Linked DNA regions of Homo sapiens: region 2 is linked to region 1. Evidence: promoter capture Hi-C in 16 types of primary human blood cells and fetal thymus (Javierre and others, 2016). All regions are on one chromosome and are shown on one strand. Each heading gives the region's core, a stretch centred on a gene start or on the middle of the fragment in contact. The rest is flanking DNA. Distances are from core to core; before and after follow the strand shown.

Evidence for each region. The method cuts DNA at HindIII sites, captures the fragments that hold promoters and counts their contacts. A CHiCAGO score of 5 or more calls a contact.
Region 2: a contact is called between the fragment with the promoter of TSPAN1 here and the fragment with the promoter of MMACHC in region 1, in 1 of 17 cell types (fetal thymus). The highest score is 6.6, in fetal thymus.

The regions. Positions count from the first base shown.
Region 1 is chr1:45,498,935-45,501,634 of GRCh38, forward strand. It overlaps MMACHC (metabolism of cobalamin associated C), which reads left to right and starts at 1,366. Exons shown (of 4, transcript NM_015506.3): 1 at 1,366-1,479. The coding sequence starts at 1,399. CCDC163 (CCDC163 homolog) reads right to left here and starts at 1,139. Exons shown (of 5, transcript NM_001102601.3): 1 at 598-1,139; 2 at 411-509. The coding sequence starts at 675. RefSeq lists enhancers at 1,079-1,611, 1,161-1,360. The HindIII fragment of the contact is 9,755 bases long and covers 1-2,616 here.
Region 2 is chr1:46,173,711-46,176,410 of GRCh38, forward strand. It overlaps TSPAN1 (tetraspanin 1), which reads left to right and starts at 1,377. Exons shown (of 9, transcript NM_005727.4): 1 at 1,377-1,699. It overlaps P3R3URF-PIK3R3 (P3R3URF-PIK3R3 readthrough), which reads right to left. Exons shown (of 10, transcript NM_001303427.2): 1 at 2,518-2,700. P3R3URF (PIK3R3 upstream open reading frame) reads right to left here. Exons shown (of 2, transcript NM_001328655.2): 1 at 2,518-2,700; 2 at 1,776-1,919. The coding sequence ends at 1,876. It also overlaps a transcript of PIK3R3 not described here. The HindIII fragment of the contact is 4,826 bases long and covers 1-1,848 here.

The DNA of each region.
Region 1 (2,700 bases), core at 116-2,615:
CCCCTAGTATCCTCATCTTACACAAACATCACATATACACACCAAGGATTCCAAGCCTCACCTGAGCCTGACATTGAAATTAGGATCAGAGAATAGCAACCTCACCCCAGAGAGAGGATGGGCTCTAGGACTCAGGGCAGCTCAGCCTTTGTGGAACTATGGGAGTCTCTAAAGCCCAAGGCTGTTGAGCTTGGACTCCTGACTGCAGAGGCAAGTGATGAGAGGAAATCCAGGTCCCAGCCAGGTCCCCGGCTGAGGAAATAAGGAAGGGTTAAGTGCAGGGTCTGTGTGGGGAAACAGAGTTCAGGAAAGGACAGAGTTGGAATTTGGAAGGAATAATGGATGATACGGGCACTGGAGGAAGGCACAGAAAGAGAAAGGGCTTGGAAGTAGAAAGAGACATTACTTACCTGCGGTGGAGACCCCAAGAAGATACAGCCACTGCTACAGAAGAAACAGATGCACAGGCCAATGAGCTCTGTGGAGACCCCAAGAGGATACAGCCACTGCTACAAAAGAAACAGATGCACAGGCCAATGAACTCTGAGAGTCCCTTAGCCTCCCCACGCAAACTGGGGACCTCCACCAACCCCTCACCTTATTCCGGACCACATTTCCATCAGTAGCGTTGAGAAGCACATCCAGCTGCTCAAACCAGCTGAGGCTCGTATTCATATCCTGTGGCAGGGGAGCGGCAGGGGTCTGGCTCCCTGGTGTCTTGTGCTTGCTCTCCTAGCGGGGGATACCCAAGGTATCCCCAGGAAAGGCCACCACGTTAGATGGAAAGAGGGAAGTGGGGATGCAACACTGGGGTAGGTGGATGCACTATCAGACCAAAACTGCGATCCTGTGACTAGGGAAAGGAAGGACGCTCTTGGGGAACTGGGGGAAAAGCGGGATACCGTGATGATACGCAGATATCAGGTGGGGATTGAAGGTGCCAGAACCTGGTTGAGACCTCCCCAGAAGTAGTACACTGGCGCCACCACGCCAAACCTGTGCCAGTGACAACTGCCGCCGCCGGGTTCAAAACTTCGGGTTGGTTTTGAAAGTCCGACTTTGGACTGGCTGCCGCAGCGCCACCTGGGAAACTGAGGTCGCCTCTTGCGAACACAACCGGCGATGGAGGCGGTGGAACTACCTTTCTCTAGAAGAGACACGTACATGCACACCCCCACCGTGTAGCTTGCCGGGAAACTGAGTCTTCCTGATTTCGTGTGGCTGTCTCCAAGGAGGAAACGAACTACGCATCCCAAGATGCATCGCGCATAGGCAATATGGTCCCGCTACTGGACCCATTTCCTACCTGGGAAATGGAGTCGAAGCTGACTCAAAACGTAACGGCCCAATTGTCCTTGAGACTTCATTCCCCAGCAAGCTCAGCGTGTAACGTGCGCTATGGAGCCGAAAGTCGCAGAGCTGAAGCAGAAGATCGAGGACACGCTATGTCCTTTTGGCTTCGAGGTTTACCCCTTCCAGGTTAGTTTATCCCTCCTGCTGTTCTAGGGCGAAATATATGATTGGCTTCGTTGCAACTGGCGTGAGGCCTCGGGAGCCTCTGATCCTCCTGGGTTCCTGCAGCCCAGTGTCCATGTGACAACAGGGACAGAGTTTCAGTGGGGGCTTGGGTTAAAAAGGTAGTGGTCGAGGCCGGGCATGGTGGCTCACGCCTGTAATCCCAGCACTTTGGGAGGCCGAGGCGGGCGGATCACCTGAGGTGAGGAGTTCGAGACCAGCCTGGCCAACATGGTGAAACCCCATCTCTACTAAAAATATAAAATTAGCCGGGCGTGGTGGTGCATGCCTGTAATCCCAGCTACTCGGGAGGCTGAGGCAGGACAATTGCTTGAACCCATGAGACGGAGGTTGCAGTGAGCCGAGATTGCGCCATTGCAGTCCAGCCTGAGCAACAAAGAGCGAAACTCCGTGTCAAAAAAAAAAAAAAAAAAAAAAGTTGTCGCATGTTTAACCTTTTGCCACCATATAATGCCGGATTCGTTAACGGGAGACACCATATGACCTGTAGCGTGTGTGGCTCAGATTGTCACCTATATAATTTACAAGAAGAAAGGGACCTGTGAGGCAAAGTCACCTTGGAACTTCCTAAAGGATTTAGGAGAGGGCAAAGCCTAGAAGGTTTGCATAGCTATCATTTAGGTCAGCTGAGGAAGGAAGGGCATTCCTGGTGATGAACAGGCAAACAATTGGCTGGTTTGTTCCCTCTACCAACAGAAGGATAATTCATGATATTTCCAGTCATCAGTGCTGGGCTGGGTAATGAAACTTTGTACACTTGCCTGGCACAGCAGTCTCAGCACCGCACCCCGACCCCCATTTACACGGTTACATTTCCCCACATCAGTGCCCTGTGCACTGAGCAGTTAAGTTACAAAGCTAAATCAGCTCAGCTTGAGCCCTTTGCCTGATGCTTAAGAGACTACCCACTTCCCATTCCTTCTGCTGAGTGGCTCACAGCAGTCCTGGGAGAGGATATAGAGGGAGAAGTAGGTTGGGTCTAGCTTGAGACTGGTCTTGCCAGAAAAAATGGAATTGAGCTATATATGAAAAGATAGATTGGAAGGAAGGAGGGTTATGTACATCCCAAATATCAGAAAAAGCTTGAGTAAAGGTGTGGAGATAGTGGTGTGGTGTTACCAAGTAAAAGGGCTTGATGCCTGATGTGCTGGAAGCTAATATTAT
Region 2 (2,700 bases), core at 127-2,626, 670 kb after region 1:
AGAAGCCATCATCGCAGATACAGCTAAAAATAGCTGGAAGAGATGATGTCATCTGGTTCCCACAGCTTAGCACCCCCATCATACACACACTCGAGCACAAACACACACTCTCACAGACACAGATACACACAGACACAAGTGTGGGCATGAGTGCATGCACACACACATACTACACACTCATATAGGGGAGGGAGGCTTCTGGGTCCCAGGGCCGCAGGGGCAGGGAAGTCTGGTGAGTGTGTCTGCATGCGTGTATGTCTGTGTGTGCCTGGGTTTGCATGAGTGTGAAGGCATGTGTCTGCATCTGGGTGCTTGTGTGCTTGTGTCTGGGTGCATGCATGTTTCTGTCTGTGTTCATTTAGAGGCATGCGTATGTGTTGTTACATATATCGTGTGGGGATCTATGCATTTGTGTCTGCGTATATCTGCTTATAGTATGTGCTTGCATGCATGTGTGTGGTTGTTGCAGTATGTGTCTATGAGTTCACTTATATTTACATGTCTGCATGTGTTTGTGAACTGTGTCATGTATCTTTATATGTATGGCCCCTCTTGGGCCCTTGAGCATGGCCCAAGCACCTTCTAGCTTTGACTGATGTTCAGCAACCCCCATCCCATAACCTGAGGAGCCCAGCACCGTCTGGGCATGGTGTGTCAGTGAATTCTCTGCCTCAACCCCCCTCAGGGTCCCAGTCTCTGGCAAGAGTTGGGGTAGATAGACATAAGCACAATTCACTTTCCCTTCACAGGCAGCAAAGGACATTAGCCACACTTCCTGAACCCCAGGGGGCCAGGCCACCAAAGGTCTCAGGGTTCACTCCCTTCCCTAGCCCCTTGGGAAGGTAGCCTGGAAATGCAGCCAGATCTCGGACCGGTGCAACACGTATTAGCCCATGCATGATGCAACATATTCGAGACAGAGTCCTACAAAATGTTCCCAGCGACTAAGACACAACCCCACAGAAACCCGGTTACAGCCAGTGACACATGAGCACACACTCAGAAATCCAAATGGAAAATCCCCAGGCCAGAGAGCTTAGCACCCTCCCTACTTTCTGGGCTCAAACTCAGTCTTGCCCCACCCCTAAGCACCCCAGCTCAGCTGCCAGTTCTGGAAAACACTGACCTCAGAGAATGGTTGAAGGGCCGAAGGTAGTATGCCTTTCTCAGAATCTCACCCTTCTCCATGTTCTCCTCCTTTAGGCTGTTCCCCATCCCCCTCCTGACCTTCACTTTTCTTACCAGGGCTGATGTCCTCTCCGGCACACCCATACCCTCACAAACGCTCCTTGACACTCACAGTCAGTCACAGAGGCACATTAAATCACAAAGGCACATTCAGCCACATCTACTGATACTCCTATTCTCCCGGCCTCAGACACACACACCAGCAGCTACACCTACACGCTGACCATCACAGGCACACAGAGGCACATCCACCTCACATCCACCTCATACTTGTGTACTCTCAGGGTTCAGTCTTTCATCCTATCCCTCTCTGATCTGTGCCTCCCAATACCTTCCAAGATGTTTACAGAGACCCTTCTCCCTGTGCAGTTAGGAGTGTAAGGCAAGAGAGCCCCTACTTCATGGGGCAGATCAAGAGCTGAGACCAAAGATGGTCTATGTTGCTGACCTTGTCCTGTCCTCCTGCTGTCTTAAACTATGATCCCTGCTGCGGTCACTGAAGCCTTTCCCTGTAAGTATTCAGCCATAACCCTCCCCTCACGCCCTGCATAGTCAGCTGGTTAACACCTCTGTGTGGAATAAGGCAGTTTGAGCAGAATGACTGTATTTGTTGTTCACCACCCACACGGCCCCTAGGAGATGCAGGTCCAGGGCAAACCAAGCTTCTGGGCTAGCTTCTGGGCACTTCTAGAGGATCAGAAAAATCCCAGGTTGCCTGAGATGTCTGAGAACTGAGGAGAGGAAGGAGAGGGAAGAGTTTGAGGAAGGAAGCAGTTCTGGAAGTTCCCTGCCTCTTGGATTCAGCCCCTCCCCAAACCCTCTGCTTCCAGCCAATCCATCCTCCATTAAGGCTGTCAGCACTTTGGGGTGCCTGCCATCAGGAGTCCCCCATATATGTAGGGGTGCTATTTCACAGAGATCATCCTTTGGCGTGCCTAAACAGAACCAGGTAGGGAAATCTTCACTGGCTCTGGTTTTTTTTTTTTTTTCTTGAGACAGAGTCTAGCTCTGTCACCCAGGCTGGAGTGCAGTGGCGCGATCTTGGCTCACTGCAACCTCTGCCTCCCGGGTTCAAGCAATTCTCCTGCCTCAGCCTCCCAAGTAGCTGGGACTAAAGGCGTGTGCCACCACGCCCGGCTAATTTTTTTTTGTATTTTTAGTAGAGATGGGATTTCACCGTGTTAGCCAGGATGGTCTCGATCTCCTGACCTTGTGATCTGCCCGCCTTGGCCTCCCAAAGTGCCGGGATTACAGGCATGAGCCACCGCACCCAGCCTAGTGGCTCTGTTTTTTAAAACCCCACCCTGGCTCACAGGCCCCCTGGCTAACCTTGAGGTGGGAAGATCCACACTATGGTGGTGTCAGTGTGGGTGTTGTTGATACCCATGGCCCTGGTGGCAGGATTGATGGCTGCACTGCTGGCAGTTCGACCTCGGAGACCCTGTTGATATCTTCTGCGGCTACACTTGAACATCCTGGGAAATCGGGGCCTGGGCCAGCCCATACCTGGCC